3 separate regions of the Homo sapiens genome follow, and all the other regions are linked to region 1. The links are contacts of gene promoters, found by promoter capture Hi-C in blood cells and fetal thymus (Javierre and others, 2016). All regions are on one chromosome and are shown on one strand. Each heading gives the region's core, a stretch centred on a gene start or on the middle of the fragment in contact. The rest is flanking DNA. Distances are from core to core; before and after follow the strand shown.

Evidence for each region. Contacts are between HindIII fragments. The CHiCAGO score rates a contact against its expected background, and 5 or more counts as called.
Region 2: a fragment that was not itself captured here is called in contact with the fragment with the promoter of TENT4B in region 1 in 4 of 17 cell types (total B cells, neutrophils, total CD8 T cells and 1 more); the score reaches 6.5 in total B cells.
Region 3: a fragment that was not itself captured here is called in contact with the fragment with the promoter of TENT4B in region 1 in 1 of 17 cell types (naive B cells); the score reaches 6.7 in naive B cells.

Annotation. Positions count from the first base shown.
Region 1 is chr16:50,150,167-50,155,328 of GRCh38, reverse strand. It overlaps TENT4B (terminal nucleotidyltransferase 4B), which reads right to left and starts at 2,023. Exons shown (of 12, transcript NM_001365324.3): 1 at 1,070-2,023. The coding sequence starts at 1,707. It also overlaps the pseudogene RPL10P14 and the pseudogene LOC124900375. RefSeq lists enhancers at 323-372, 2,010-2,967 and silencers at 1,184-1,353, 1,474-1,523, 1,704-1,803, 2,034-2,193, 2,304-2,473 and 1 more. The HindIII fragment of the contact is 13,709 bases long and covers 75-5,162 here.
Region 2 is chr16:50,645,016-50,650,177 of GRCh38, reverse strand. It overlaps NKD1 (NKD inhibitor of Wnt signaling pathway 1), which reads right to left. Exons shown (of 10, transcript NM_033119.5): 10 at 929-5,162. Among named protein-coding and RNA genes, the nearest start is that of SNX20, 34 kb to the left of the region's middle. RefSeq lists an enhancer at 3,098-3,616. The HindIII fragment of the contact is 3,232 bases long and covers 725-3,956 here.
Region 3 is chr16:50,562,401-50,567,562 of GRCh38, reverse strand. The region is part of intron 3 of NKD1 (NKD inhibitor of Wnt signaling pathway 1); the gene reads right to left. Among named protein-coding and RNA genes, the nearest start is that of NKD1, 17 kb to the right of the region's middle. The HindIII fragment of the contact is 4,288 bases long and covers 748-5,035 here.

The DNA.
Region 1 (5,162 bases), core at 774-3,273:
TCTCCATACTCAAGCTACACACACACACACACACACACACACACACACACACACACCCACGAGACCCAAAAGCTTTGTTTTACAAAACAAATAAGATTCAGTGACCTATTCCAGCACAGGGACTCTTCTGAAGGGAGATCTAGTTGGAAACATTCCCTGCTTATGTACATAATTCACTAGGGGTCAGGTAAGATTCCATTTTCTAAGAGCTGAACTTTAAACAGAAAGTCACTAGTGGTGCAATATTCACTCATTAGCATAAATCTCTACCCCCTAGAATGAAAAGCATTGGCTGCCTCTGCCAGGATGACAACTTTACAGTGAGAAGCTGGAGCCGCGGACCATGAACTCCTGGAAAGTTCTATCAGGGCCTCAGAAGGGCTCACCACCTTCACCAGCCTAAACTTAGTGGTCACCCATCCCACGCCACCCTCTGCATAGACAGGGCATCTGTGACATGGGAATTTTTTAAAAATAAAAAGATGGGCCAAAGGGTCAAGAGCAGGCAATGCCTTACAGGGCTGACATAATTGCTGTCTGGGATTGGGGGATGGGGAGGAGCATTCTGGATGTTTCTATTCTTGGCAAGGAAAGCACCTCCGGGTCCTGCACCATCAAAAAACACTCACACACCAATGTTCTCAGGGAATGAATGATAGGCCCGTGCTAAGCGGTCTCATCTTGAGTTGTGATGATGGGGAAAAAGGTGTGGAGGGCTGGAGGCGGGGTGGTGGTCAAGGGTAGATGTGTTTAACTAAGGGGGATGGGAGGAGAGTGAATGGATAAAGGGGGGGGCCTGGGGAAGGTGTGGACGGTTAAGAGGGAGGGGAGGAAGGTGTGGACGACTAAGGGAGGACAGGAGACGGAGGGTGTGGACGGCTAAGGAGGCTTGGGGAAAGGTGTGAACGACTGGGGGGTTGGGGATGGCCAGCAGCACCCCCGTGCAACAGCAGCGAAGGCAGGCCGTGGGGGTGGCCGCTCCTAGACCCTCACAACCCCCCTCTGTGGGCGTGTGCCCGGCTGCGCATTCGCACCGGCCAGGCCATCGGGCCGCAGAGCCAGCACTCACCCCACGACTCCCTGGTTGTAGTTCCTCCGTTTCCACGGGGTCCCGCTGTACACGACCCCGCCGCCGTCTGCTCGGCCGCCCCCCGCGGCCCGCCCTCCGCTGGGCTGCAGCAGGCTGTAGTTGAGTCCATACGTGCTGGCCTTGTTGTCGCGCTTCCTCTTGTTGCTGCTGCCCGAGGCCGAATCGGCTGGATCGGCGGCGGGGACGGCGGCCGAAGGGTGCGGGGACGAGGACGCCGAGGGAGGCGAGGACGCCGAGGAGCCCGCCCGGCGGGCCCAGGCCCCGGGCTGGTGGTGGTTGTTGTTGTTGTTGGTCGTCTCTAGGGGCAGGAAGTCCCGCTGCTCCGCGGGCAGCGCGTGGCTGCCCAGCAGGCGCTCCCCGGAGCGATACATGCCGGCCGGGGCCGGGGCCGGGGCCGAGGCCGCGCCGCCGGGGCTGCCGGTGCTGCTGCCGCTCCCGCCGGTGGCCGTGCTGCTGCTGCTGCTGCTGCCGCCGCCGCCGCTCGCGCCGCCGCTGCTGTGACAGTGGTGGTTGAAGTAGAGGTTCCTCAGCCCCTGGGTCGTCTCCCAGATCTGCATCCACAGACTGTTGGACGGTCCGAGCTGCTCTGGCTGAAACCAGGCGATCCTCGGATCCATCAAACGGCGGCGGCCGCTGCCCCCGCCCCTCCCGGCCGCCCGCAGGGCCGCCGCCGCCGCCGCCTCAGGCGCACGCCCGGCCTCGGCTGCTGCTGCTGCTGCCGCTGCTGCCGCTGCTGCTGCTGCTGCTGCTCGGGGCCCGCCGCGGGCGGCGCGGTCGCGCAGGGAGCCCGGCCGGCGCCGGCGGCGTCGCTCCCGCCCTCGGGGGCTCCGCGGGCCCTCCCCCCCTCCCTCCGCCCCTCCGCCCCTCCGCCGAGCCCCTGTCACTGGGGTCCCCGTGCAAATGGCGGCGGCGGCGGCGGCGGCTCCACAGAAGAGCGAGCGGCGGCGGCGGCAGCGGCGGCAGCGAGACGCGCCTGCTCCGTAGCGTCCTCGCTCCTCCGGCCCCGGGGCGGGGCCTCTGCCGGCTCCGCCCCTCTCGCTCCGCCCCCCCCCCCCACCGCCCCGCCCTCACGCGCTCGCCCCGCCCCCGCTGCGCCGCGCAGCAGCCCGGGAGGCCTCGCCGTGCGTCACAGAGGCCGCGGCGCGACGGGGCCGCAACCGCCTGGCCCAACCGTACTTGCGCCATCTGTGGAGTGCTCCCACGTACCTGGGCGTCCGGGAGCTTCTGAGGCGCGCGCGGCTTCTCCGCCTCGGCTTCCCCGGTGCTGAGCGTGGACGAGGCCGCATGGAGGTTGCCGCCCGCCCCGCAGGGAGCGCGTTGTGGGAGGTGCCACTCCGCCCCTCGCTCCTCGCCCCTCCCATCCCTGTGGCCGCCGGATCCCGGGCCCTCGCAACCCTTCCTGACGTCTTGGCTTCTGCCTGCTTTCTAAAACACTTTCTTTTTAAAAAAAAAAAAAAAAAAAAAAACAGCCTATAACACTTTTTCTGGTGGCGTGGGGACACGCCCCCTGCCCGAGCGTGTGCCCCGGGGTCCTGACGCGGGCTGCGCGAGACCCTGCACGGCTACGTGTGCCCCGCCCTGCTGCGCCCTGGCCGGGGTGGGGGACCCCTCACCCCGGCCTGAGGCCACAGAAACCTGTACCCCATGCATAGCCCTGGGGGAGACCACTAAGACTGAGAGTGTGAGCCAAGGGCGGAAAGCCGCAGCCGCACACTCAACCCACTTTACAGGGACACGCAAACACGTGTAGATGCACAGAGAAGCAGACACACTCCTGCGCGGCGTAGCAAAGACGCTCTCCTGCCCTAAGGTGCACCAACAGCCTTAGAAAGCTCTTCTGAGTTCAGCATTAAATTTTAAGAAAACCCAAAACCTTTTAATCCTAAAATGAAGATTTAGCATCAGCAAAGATTGTCCACTAGGTCGTTATTTGCATGTCTTTCAAATCTCAGTGGTTAAAAAGCCAAGGAAAGGGGAATGTTAAGTATTTTAAATCAAGAGACTAAAAGAAAGTAAGTGAACAGCTTCTATGTGGGCCCTTTAAGGTTGGTCCAACGTCCAGAACAAGTCCCTGATGCCTGATATTGGCCTTCCATTTTGGGAGCTCAATATCCTGGAAAGTTTTTATGACAAATAGTGGAAAACTATCAAAGAACTAAGTGTCGCTCTACCTTTTTCTTTCTTTCGAGACTAACTCTTGCTCTGTCATCTGGAGTTCAGTGACTCATTCACAGCTCACTGCAGGCTCGGCCTCTTGGGTTCAAGCGATCCTCTTGCCCCAGCCTCCGAGTAGCTAGGACTATAGGCACGCGTCAACATGGCATAGAGACGAAGTTGCTCTGCGCTGCCCAGGCTGGTCTGGAACTCCTGGACTTAAGCGATCCTCCTACCTCAGACTCCAAAACTGCTGGGATTACAAGGGGGTGAGCCACCACGCCTGACCTTACTTTTTTTTTTTTTTTTGGTAAGAGAATAAATAGCACGACCAGAAATACGGAAAACACACAAAGACCCTTCAGCTGCAAACAACAGCTTCCTTGGTAGTTTATGCAGCCTGTTTCTTGTATGGGCTGCTCTAAGGGACCATGGAGACAGGCCTTTCAGATGTATGTTCATGTCTTTGACCTTGCACTACGCCAATGTAGGCTCCAGGCAGATATTCGAGGTGCCTTTGAAAAGCTCCAGGGCACTGTGGCCAGGGTTCACATTGGCCAAGTTATCATGTCCATCTGCAACAAGCTGCAGAATAAGGAGCATGTGATTGAATCCCTGCTCAGGGCCAAGTTCAAGTTCCCTGGCTGCCAGAAGATCCACATTTCAAAGAAGTGGGGCTTCACCAAGTTCACTGCGGATGAATTTGAAGACATGGTGGCTGAAAAGCGGCTCATCGCAGATGACTGTGGGGTCAAGTACATCCCCATCATGGCCCTCTGGACAAGTGGCGTGCCCTGCCCTCGTGAGGGCTTCCACTGTGCTGCCCCCTCTTAATACTCCCCAGTAAATCCTACTTCCTGTCCACCAAAAACAAACAAAAAAAACCCTTCGGAATTTTGATTCATTCAATTTGATTGTTGCTGTTGCTTTACTAGAAATCAGTATTAAAAGTTTTCTCTGTCCGGGGGCGGTTGCTCACACTTGTAATCCCAGCGTTTTGGGAAGTCAAGGCAGGCAGATCACCTGAGGTCGGGAGTTCGAGACCAGCCTGACCAACACGGAAAAACCCCATCTCTACTAAAAATACAAAATTAGCCGGGTGTGGTGGCGCATGCCTGTAATCCCAGCTACTTAGGAGGTTGAGGCAGGAGAATCACATGAACCCAGGAGGTGGAGGTTGTGGTGAGCCGAGATCTCGCCATTGCACTCCAGCCTGGGTGACAGAGCGAGACTCCATCTCAAAAAAAAAAAAAAAAAAAAGTTTTCCCTGAATGAAATTTGCTATGTACTAATTATTACATAGCCAGGAAAATAAGTAGCCGTATTTTTTGTGTTATTTACACTGACAAAAATAAAACATTGTATAGAAATAGATTTTGTTTGCTGACCTCATATTTGTTTTAAAAATTGAATCTCTGGCCGGGCGTGGTGACTCACACCTGTAATCCCAACATTTTGGGAGGCTGACGCGGGCAGATCATGAGCTCAGGAGTTCCCGAGACCAGCCTGGCCAATGTGGTGAAACCCCGTCTCTACTAAAAATACAAAAAATTAGCCGGGTGTGGTGGCACATGCCTGTAATCCCAGCTACTTGGAAGGCTGAGGCAGGAGAATCATTTGAACCTTGGAGGCAGAGGTTTTGGTGCGCCGAGATCGCGTCATTGCACTCCAGCCTAGGTGACACAGTGAGACTCTGTCTCAAAAAAAAAAAATTATATATATATATATCTATCTCTCTCTCTCTCTCAGCAGGATGCAGTGGCTCATGCCTGTAATCCCAGCACTTTGGAAGACTGAGGTGAGAGGATTACTTGAAGCCAGGAGTTTGAGAACAGCCTAGGCAACATGGTGAGACCTCTGTCTCTACAAAAAATTTAAAAATGAGCTGGGCCTTTTCCTTTAACGTAGGATCAAGGTA
Region 2 (5,162 bases), core at 1,091-3,590, 490 kb before region 1:
ACCTCCGCCTCCCAGGTTCAAGAGACTCTTCTGCCTCAGCCCCCCGAGTAGCTGGGATTACAGGCACCTGCCACCATGCCCAGCTAATTTTTTGTATTTTTAGTAGAGACGGGGTTTCACCATGTTGGCCAAGCTCGTCTTGAACTCCTGACCTCAGGTGATCCACCCGTCTCGGCCTTTCAAAGTGCTGGGATTATAGGTGTGAGCCACTGCACCAGGCTGGTTTTTTGTTTTTTGTTTTTTTTTTAACAGAGTCTTGCCCTGTCTCCCAGGTTGGAGTGCAGTGGTGTGATCTCTGCTCACTGCAAACTCCACCTCCTGGTTCAAGCGATTCTCCTGCCTCAGCCTCCTTAGTAGCTGGGATTACAGGGATGTGCAACCACGCCTAGTGATTTGTTGTATTCTAGTAGAGACAGGATTTCACCACGTTGCCCAAGCTGGTCTCGAATCCTGACCTCAAGTGATCCACCCACCTCGGCCCCCCAAAGTGCTGGGATTACAGGCATGAGCCACTGCACCCGGCCCAGATTGGCATTTTTAAAAGTGCTTTTTGTCTGCAGTGCGGGGACTGATGGGAGACAGCATGGCCAGTGGAGGAACCGTCCCCAGGCTGGGGAGAGCCGACAGGACTCTCTGCTAGGGTATGGAGGGGATGGGTAGAGTGGAAAAGGTCTCAGTAACTGGAGTGATGAGGGAAAGAGGAGTCAAGGATGGCACCCAAGCTTCTGGTCTGGGTTACTTGTTGGATTGTCTTGCCATCTGCTGAGCTAGGAGCAGGTTTTGGGGTAAGATGATGAGTTTGTTTTGAGGCATGTAGTTGGGACTCGTTGGCAGCAACCTAGAGACAGTCATGGCAGTGGACGAGATCCCAAGAAGTGAGTCCACGGAGAAGGCCAGGCAGCCAGCACTGAGATCTGAGCAACGCCACTATTTTTAAAATTTTTTTATTTTGAAATAATTATAAATTATCAGAAAGTTGCAAACAAAGCCCAGTCAGGTCCCATGTACCAGTTTCACTGCCACCATCTTTAAAGGAGGATTAGACGAATCTGACTGCTAAAAGTGGCCCAGGGATTCTGGAGAAAATCCAACAGGTTTGCTATCAGGAAAGCAATTTCACTTACAATTCAGGTTTGACTGCAAGTGAAAGTGGTTGAAACAAGTGAGAAGTTGATTGCTTCCTCATATAATAGTCTAAATGTAGGTGTCCAAGCCTGGAATAGAGGTCCTGGTCCTCTAAGTTCTCAGGAACACAGGCTTCTTTTAGCCACTCCACATCTCTAGGGTGTTGTCCTCATGGTCCAAAATGGTGACTGGAATTCCAGCCATCACATCTGCTTTCCAGGCAGCAAAATGGAAGAAGGGGCACAGAAGAACAGAGATGACAATAGGTATAAACAAGCTCTCTTTTTAAAGGAGATTCCCAGGAGCTGCTACATGACACTTACTGTTGACTAGAGTTTAGTCACAAAATTTATTTGCGAAGGAGTCTGAGAACTGTAGTCTTTATTCTTGGGCTCAAAATCAGAGGCTGTATTACAAGGAAGAAAGAGTGTATTCAGGGGAGCAACTAGCTTCCTGTGCACAGAATCCAAGGGCAGAGGGTGTTCTGAAAGGGGGGATGTGTCAGTATCACAAAAACAATCAAGAAGTCAAGAAAGGTAGCAATGAAATGCCCAGTGGATTTAGGGGCAAGAAAGTCCAGTGGCAACTTGGTGAGGATGATGGCAATTATCCATCTGACCCCAGAACCCTTGATTCTGAGTGCCTAATGTTTTCCAGAGTCAGCTTTTGTCTAGTGGATGGGGCAGAAAGACAGAGGTGTTGGAGTTGAGGGTGTTGGACCAAGAGTGCAAATCCAGGCCACAGGTGACAGTACAGCGGCAGGAAGTGGAAATGAGGGAATGAAAGGGACTCTAGGAAGAGCCAAGAGGGACTGACTGTGAGAAGGACAGGAATGAGGACAGAAGGAGACAGCAGAGTGTGTGGCTTCCATGGTGTGGCATTTCTGGGTTCACAGTGGGGCCCAGGAGTGAGTGGCTATAGAAGAGAGAAAAGGAGGCCTTCCTGGTGGTGGGGGCCATAACACTGAGAGATCGGGGTTCAGACACCTGCGGAAATCACCCAGGTTGCTGGCAGGGTGTCAGGTAGAGGTGGACGCTGAGCCTCTGTGGAGTTTTCCCAGTTACTTCAACACCACTCCCAACTTTGCTGCCAAAAGAGCCTGTTTAATGTTCTTGTGGTTGACACCTGCCCCAAACCCTGAATGGTTCCCCCATGGATTCTCAGGAAATGTCCAAACCCCTCACCTTTTCCTTTGAGGTCCTTCTATGATCACCTGGGATGGGTTATGATGCTTTCAACTCTAAGCAACAGGAACCCCAAGTAACAGACACTGCCTGTGCCTGGCTTGTATCCCCTGTAGGAATCATTTCTGTTTGCTGGTCCAATTTCCGACTGCCAGTACCTGCAATTCTGCTGAAGCCTATGCCTATGCACAGAAATAGCCCTTGACCAATGACTGACAAGGATGGGTGGGTAAATACCTCAGCTCCCTCCCTGTGCAGGTGGGATAACTCTGAGGTATGTTCCACGTGGGCTCCTGGAGTGGAACTTCCCTTCCTTTTCTGCCTCACTTCCCCACTCTCCTCCCTGTCTTTCCCAGGACCACCTCAAAATCAACAACCTGCTCCTGAGTCTTCATCTCAGGATCTCCTCCTGAGAAAAACCAAATAACTAAAGTACAGATGCTGGGTGGCTGCCAGGTCATGTATAAGTGCTTGCTCAACATCATTCCCAAGGACCCAGCACTCTCTGTGTGTGCTCTGTGGTCCTCAGGCTGTAGCAAGATGGCCACTACCATGACATGTTACAAGTTCCTCAACAGACTTCCCTTCAGATCTCATTGCCCAGAATAAGGTCACACATGATCTTTCCTGAATCAGTCACTGGCAAAGGTGAGGACTTTGCCATGTCTGGCTTAGACGAATCACCTATGGACAGAAAGGATGATGGGGTCAACTACAGAGACCACACCACCATCCCATCATGTCTTCTAGTATGACTCTACCACTGTAGATATGTAATATAGTGAAAAGAAAGAGCTGGTTGATGCTGCTTGCCAACCAGCTGTGTGTTCTCACGATCTCACATTCATTCATTCATTCATTCAACATGCACATATTGAATGTTGACTGTGTCCCTGCTAGTTACTGGGGCTGGGGATGTGGGAGACAAGAAAAGCACAGAGGGCTGAATGTGGTGGGGTCTGGGTGGCAGAGGCATGACCCTGGGGATATCCTGACCCAGCTGTTTTGCCATCTGAAATGTCCCACCCCACTGTCTTCCCTTCAGGATCATACCTGCCCCCTAGAGCCCCTCTCCTCCAGGAGGCCTTTTCTGATTTTCCCAAACCAGGGGGTCCCATCCTGCCTTGGAGCCCCCTTGGGTGTTCCAGGGTGTTGTTCTGGGCTGACACTGCCTTGGCTGGCTCTGAAGTGTCCTTTCATGCCCATTACGAGTGACAGTGTTCTTGTTTTCCCCATTAAGGCTCCTAGAGGGAGGGCACTGTGTCCCCAGGGCCTGAGCCACAGCCAGGCAGCTCAACCCTGCAGGGCTGACCCACAGCCTGGGTGGACCCGCCCGGCCCCAGTCCCTGCCTCCCAGCACCTGCCACAAGGCCGCCTCCTCCCCACGCCATGTCTCCCATCAATTTCTTCTTTCATAAAAATCAATTTCTGTCCCGTTTTTGCCATGTACATAAAAGACTGTGGCATCAGTTAGCCTTCGTTCTCTCTCCCCCCCCCCTCTTTTTCTTCCTCGTCTTTTTTGGAAACCTCTTTGTAGGGAAAATCTCATATTTCAGCAATTTGCATTATCCACACACTCAGCTTTGAAGTTCTAAGTTATGGTAAGAAAAGGACCCACTTATCTGCCCATAAAAAATGTTCAAAGCTTATAAATTCCCTGAAACAGATGTACATTATCATTGGATTTGCCTTTCTTTTTGCTAGAGCATGCCTAATAGAGTTTCGGCCGCCCCCTGGCCCCCTTCCCCCGCCCCCGTTAGCATCTTGTCTCCACAGAAGCCCGCTCCCCACTGGGCCAGACCGACTTCAAAGGTCCCAGGCTGTCTGTTAGAAGCAAAGCACAAAGTGGGAACATAGGGGCCTTTTAAATCCCCCACGTTTAAGTCAATATCATGCCTCCCTCCTTTCCCCTCTCCTGGCAGAGGGACATAAGTCAGCCCTTCCCTTTCTGCCTTCACGAGAGCCAATTCAGCAACTACCAGAGAGAGGAAATTGGGGCCTCTTTCTCTCCCAGTCTCTCTGTCTTTGCCCTTTCTTTCTTGCCAACTTTTCTTTTTGTTCTTTCCCTCGCTTAAGAAGATGTTCGGCAGCACGGAAGGTAGTGCTGATCCCACATGTAAGCAAGCAAGCGGATCCTTGAGCGCTTTCATGGGTAAGAACGTCATAAACAACGTGCATCCATTCGGTTGCCGTGGGATCCTACCAAGAGAGCCTCCTCTCCGGGCTACTGTTTCCAATCCCTTCTCTGCGTGGTGGTGGCTAGAGTGTCACATCCTCTCTCTCCCGACTGACCACCTAGCTTCCTGATGTGTCTCTTGGGGTGACAAGCAGACTCTCCACCATTCAGGCCCCCAGATTCTGCCCATACCGGGCCTCCTCGTTGCCAGCTGTACCCGGCCATACAGGCCTGCACCAGTTCATCAAGCGTTCACCCTCCATCCACCCTTGAGGCCCTTGTACCAGCTGCTCCCTCTAACTTTCCACCTGGCTAATTCTTCCTCACCCTTGAGGTCACCCCCTAAATGTGGCTTCCTGGAGAGTCCCTCTGCAGTCCCCCATCTCCATCATGTCCCCTCTGTTATTCCCTCCCATGTCTCCCCAGAAGTTATCGCAGTGGATAAAAATGTCGTTTCTGGGTGGAAGCAGTCCCCCCGTCCCCCACACTAGATTAAAGCTCCACAAAGGTAGGTAGAGATGATGTCTGTTTTATCGAGTGCTGAGCATGGTTCCTGACACATAGTACTTGATCACTAAATCTTTGAAAGTACGGATGAACAGAAAGCCTGGAGATGACGGTGGTAAAGGCCAGCCAGGCCTGAGCAGGTCCTTTCTGGGCAGGAAGTGCCAAGTGTG
Region 3 (5,162 bases), core at 1,642-4,141, 410 kb before region 1:
AGATCAGAGTGTAAAAGGCACTCACAGCTAAACCAAACTAACTCCAAGACACCTAGAGAAGCCCCTGAAACCTCCCTAGGGCTGGGTTTTCCCATCTATAAATGGGGAGCAATCATCTCAGGGGAACTCCTGAGCAATCAAATGTGATGTCCCCTCTCAACATCTTCTTCTGACAAACGGCAATCACGCCCCTTCCAGGTGCTATTTTCGGCCCCAAAGAAATGGAGACCGGTTTACTGGGAATCTTTCAGAACACAGCAGCAGATCCAGAGGCCTTAAAGGGCTACTGAGTACATCTGCTGGGTGCTCACTGCATGCTAACACTTCAGTGGCCATATGCATTACTTCATCATTTAATCTTTGAAACAACTCCAAACGGTGGGCATTCTGTTCCTCTTTTTATAGGTAAGAAAACTAAGGCCCAGCGTCAACACGGTTCAGTATAAACCCAAGTCTGAAGCCTGGTCCTAAGCTCTATGCACCCCTCAAATTGGGAGATCACATAGGGAAAAAGGAGTGAAGTAATGCAATTAAGTCTTAAAAAAAAAGGGGGGGGGCCATAAAAACTAAAACAGGAGTTCCTAACCTGGGGCCATAGGTGCCCTGAAATTGGAATGACGGATGTAAGAGCATTTATCTAAGGAGAGAGACACAAGAGATTTGGTGGATTCCCAAAAGTGTCTTGTTACTCACTCCTTGAGGGTTAAAAATCATCAACCTATGATCATCATAGAGAGGTCAGAAGCTTGAAAGGAAGGCTGTAACCCAGGTGGGCTGCATGGAGGAGGTGGCAAACCACCTAGGTTCTTCCAAGATCCAATGGCAATGGGTGGGTCAATGGTCAGCTACCTAGCTGCCCTGTCCTTACCCAGCCTTGCCAGCTGCTGACCAGAGCCTTGTTCAGTGATTCTGATTCCAGGGACCAGGCCATCCACAGCTGTTGGCTCCACCCATACAGTGTGCTTTCTACAGCCTTCTCCTCTCAAGTCAGTTTCTCATTAGGGAGGTTCAAGGGATGCGGGGACGGGGGTGATCCCAGCCTCCACTCCAGGACAGGCATGTGACCCAGGACTGTCAGAGGCACAGGGATGGGTTCCGGGATGTGACCCAAGTCAAAACAATGGGAGCTCCGCCTGGGTTTTTGCTGGAACTTTCTTCTCTAACAACTGAAGCTGGGAGTCTGGACTGCTGGGAGCCAAGTTGCCATTACCTGGGAAGGGTGTGCCTAAGGATGAAGCCAATCTAAAAGAAAGCAGAGATGAAGACACAGATTGCTGTCCTGGGACATAGTTTGGGCTGGTGGATCCAGCTGTAACTGAAGTCCACTCCCTGGTTACACAAGCCAAGAACTTGACTGTATGAAACAGTTGACAAGGGCTTGAAATCCAAAAGGTCCCAACGGATCCACAGAGAAAGTTCACACCTACTTAACCACAAGCTCCCCCTGAAGCTGCTTTCCTCCTCGATTTTGTAGACACCAGCCAGAAGGAAAAACTCCAGCTTTGCCAGAAAAATAGCAGAGCCACACCTGGTGATCATATCAGGATGTGCAGTGTGTGTCGGGGGCACAGGGCAAGGGGTGGAAGCAGAAATGCACACTGTTGCTCTAAAGTCGACCACAGGCAGAAGCCCACAAATGATCTAAATGCCCAGTAGTAAGGAATCAATGCAATGATGGTCTATCCTTATAACAGAAGGCTTGATAGCCATGAAGAACAATAAGATTATACATTCTGATATGAAATGATTTCCAAGATAAGTTTAAAAAGTTATGTATTAAGAAAGCAAGGTGCGGAGACAGATGTATACATGAATCTTAAGTTAAAAGAAAATCTTAAGTTAAGGTCTGTATCACTTTTCATTGTAGTTGCTGAGAGACATGGTCTCGCTCTGTCGCTCAGGCTGAAGTGCAGTGGTGCAAACATGGCTCACTGCAGCCTCGAACTCCTGGCCCCAAACCATCCTCCCGCCTCAGCCTCCTAAGTAGCTGGGACTACAGGCACACATCACAAACCTGGCTAGTTTTTTGTTGTTACTGTTGTTATTTTAAGAGATGGGGTCCTGCTACATTGCCCAGGCTGGTCTCAAACTCCTGGGCTCAAGCAATCCTCCCACTCTGGCCTCCCAAAGTGCTGTGATTACAAGCATGAGCCACTGCACCTGGCTTCTATATCACCTTTTTTTTTTTTTTGAGACGGAGTCTCACTCTGTTGCCCAGACTGGAGTGCAGTGGTGCAATCTCAGCTCACTGCAAGCTCTGCCTCCCGTGTTCACACCATTCTCCTGCCTCGGCCTCCTGAGTAGCTGGGACTACAGGCCCACACCTGGGTAATTTTTTGTATTTTTAGTGAAGGAAACACGGGGTTTCACCATGTTAGCCAGGATAGTCTCGATCTCCTGACCTTGTGATCCGCCCACCTTGGCCTCCCAAAGTGCTGGGATTACAGGCATGAGCCACCACACCCAGCCTCTATATCACTTTTTTATGGTTCTCCACCTTAAATGAATTTTTCAATTAACCTGCAAATACCAATGCTTCCTGGTCTTGTTGGCCAAGACAGCTTCTGCTGTCTGTGCAGGGATAAGCATGCACAAACAGAGCATGGCTAGAAGTATCTTGAGGAGCCCACTACAGCAGATACCTCCAAAGGGGGAAGCTGGGAGGTGGAGGTGGGCGGAGGCTTCCTGTGTACTGCATACCTTCAGTACTATTTTGGATTTTCTTTTCTTTTTTTTTTAACCATGCGTACGACTTAATTTACAGAAAGGAAAAAGGTGAGGACCCTTTCTGAAGGGCAGAGGCTCTCTTCAAAGACACAGAACAGCCTGGCTCCATAAAAGAGGTGGGGACTTGGACAGAACAGAACAGAATCCCTGCCTCTCTGGCTGTGTGCCCTCTGGCCAAGCTGCATGGCCCCTCTGAACCTCATCCACCTGGAAAATGTTCTTGAGGATCTGCCATGTGCCAATCAGTGCAAAAGGCCCAGGGATACAAGAGTGAGCCACAAAGAACCTGACCTGTGGACTTTACAGTCTGGCCTCAGTTTCCCCATAATAATAATTTTGATCCTGGCCACATTTTTGTGAATATTAAATGCCTGACAAAGCCCTGTGAGGAAGGCTTTGCAAGCCATAAAGCCCTGGGTAAATCCTGGCTGGAAAACAGCCACCCACTCAATGCTGCTGCCTCCAACTCAGCAGGGAGTTTACCTTCCAGTGCCCCAGACCCAGAGCCAAGAGGACGAGACGCCAGTAGCAGCTGCTGAGCAGAACCTCCAAGGTTAAGAAGGCTAGAAAGGCCCCGATTTGTGACATCACAAGAAGGTGCTCTGATCCAACCATCTAGAAGGAAGACCATGATCATTCCCCACCATGGCCATGGCTGCGGCCAGCCAGGGCTAACCAAGCCTGAACACAGCTATGTTACAAGGAAGGGGGCTCTGGACAGGCCCCAAAGACGGTTAACCAGTACTTCCTGTGGGGGAGAGCTTTCTTTCCATGACCACCTGCTGTGAATCACTCCTTTGCACTCCTTTGACGCCTCCCTGCCCACTGAGGATGGAGTTTAGCCTGACACACAGGGTCTTCTCCATGCATCCAGGGCTGTGCCCACTGAGGATGGAGTTTAGCCTGACACACAGGGTCTTCTCCATGCATCCAGGGCTGTGCCCACTGAGGATGGAGTTTAGCCTGACACACAGGGTCTTCTCCATGAATCCAGGGCTGTGCCCACTGAGGATGGAGTTTAGCCTGACACACAGGGTCTTCTCCATGCATCCAGGGCTGTGCCCACTGAGGATGGAGCTTAGCCTGACACACAGGGTCTTCTCCATGCATCCAGGGCTGTGCCCACTGAGGATGGAGTTTAGCCTGACACACAGGGTCTTCTCCATGCATCCAGGGCTTGCCCACTGAGGATGGAGTTTAGCCTGACACACAGGGTCTTCTCCATGCATCCAGGGCTGTGCCCACTGAGGATGGAGTTTAGCCTGACACACAGGGTCTTCTCCATGGGTCCAGGGCTGTGCCCATTGAGGATGGAGTTTAGCCTGACACACAAGGTCTTCTCCATGGGTCCAGGGCTGCGCCCACTGAGGATGGAGTTTAGCCTGACACACAGGGTCTTCTCCATGGGTCCAGGGCTGTGCCCACTGAGGATGGAGTTTAGCCTGACACACAGGGTCTTCTCCATGCATCTAGGGCTGTGCCCATTGAGGATGGAGTTTAGCCTGACACACAGGGTCTTCTCCATGGGTCCAGGACTGTGCCCACTGAGGATGGAGTTTAGCCTGACACACAGGATCTTCTCCATGCGTCCAGGGCTGTGCTGTCCAATGAGGTAGCCACTAGCCTCATGGGGCTATTTAAGTTCACATTTAAATTCATTCAAATAAAATATATCTTAAAATTTAGGCAGTCTCTGAGTCCCAGTGGTCACATTCTAAGCCACAGGTTCCCAGAGGGGACAATGCAGACACAGAACATTTCCATCATCAGAAAGTTCTACTGGTCAGCACAGTCTAGAGGTCACTTCTACAGCCCCTTCTTCTACCCATTCTACGGCGGGGGGGGGGGGTGGTGGTGGGACCTAGCAGCCCTTTCAAGAGAGGCAGGTGTCAGTGACTGCCAGGGTAGCTCTAAATCCGCTTGCAAGTTTAAGCAGCCACAGTTATGGGGATGTGGGAAGAGGAGAGAGAACCATGGAGCGAGAGCTTGTCATGAGTGAGGGCCTGCACTGGCTTCTCTGTAGGGTCGCTCATTAGGTCCCGCTACACTACAAATGGGGAGTGCCCTCCTCCCCCCTCATCCCTCTCCAACTCCTGCACCCTCCTCTCTCCTTTCCTTCAGGGTCCAGTCGGCCCAGCTGTTGCCTAGTACAGAAAGGTTCTGACTCAGGCTCAGGAAACCCCAAGGAGTCTACATTTTGAATAGCACCCAAGAGATTCAGATGTAGGTGGTCCTCGGCCGCATCGAGTCTCCCCAACTCCACACCCTCTGGCTGCTGTCTTCTCTCTCCACTCCTTCTGATAAAGCTTCTCCATACAGTTGCCTACACATGCTGTTTCCTCATCTGTCATTCACTTTTAAAATACATCACCTTTTTGAAAAATACAAAAAGTAGCACATGCTCATTTTTTGTAAAATCAAACAACCTAAAAATG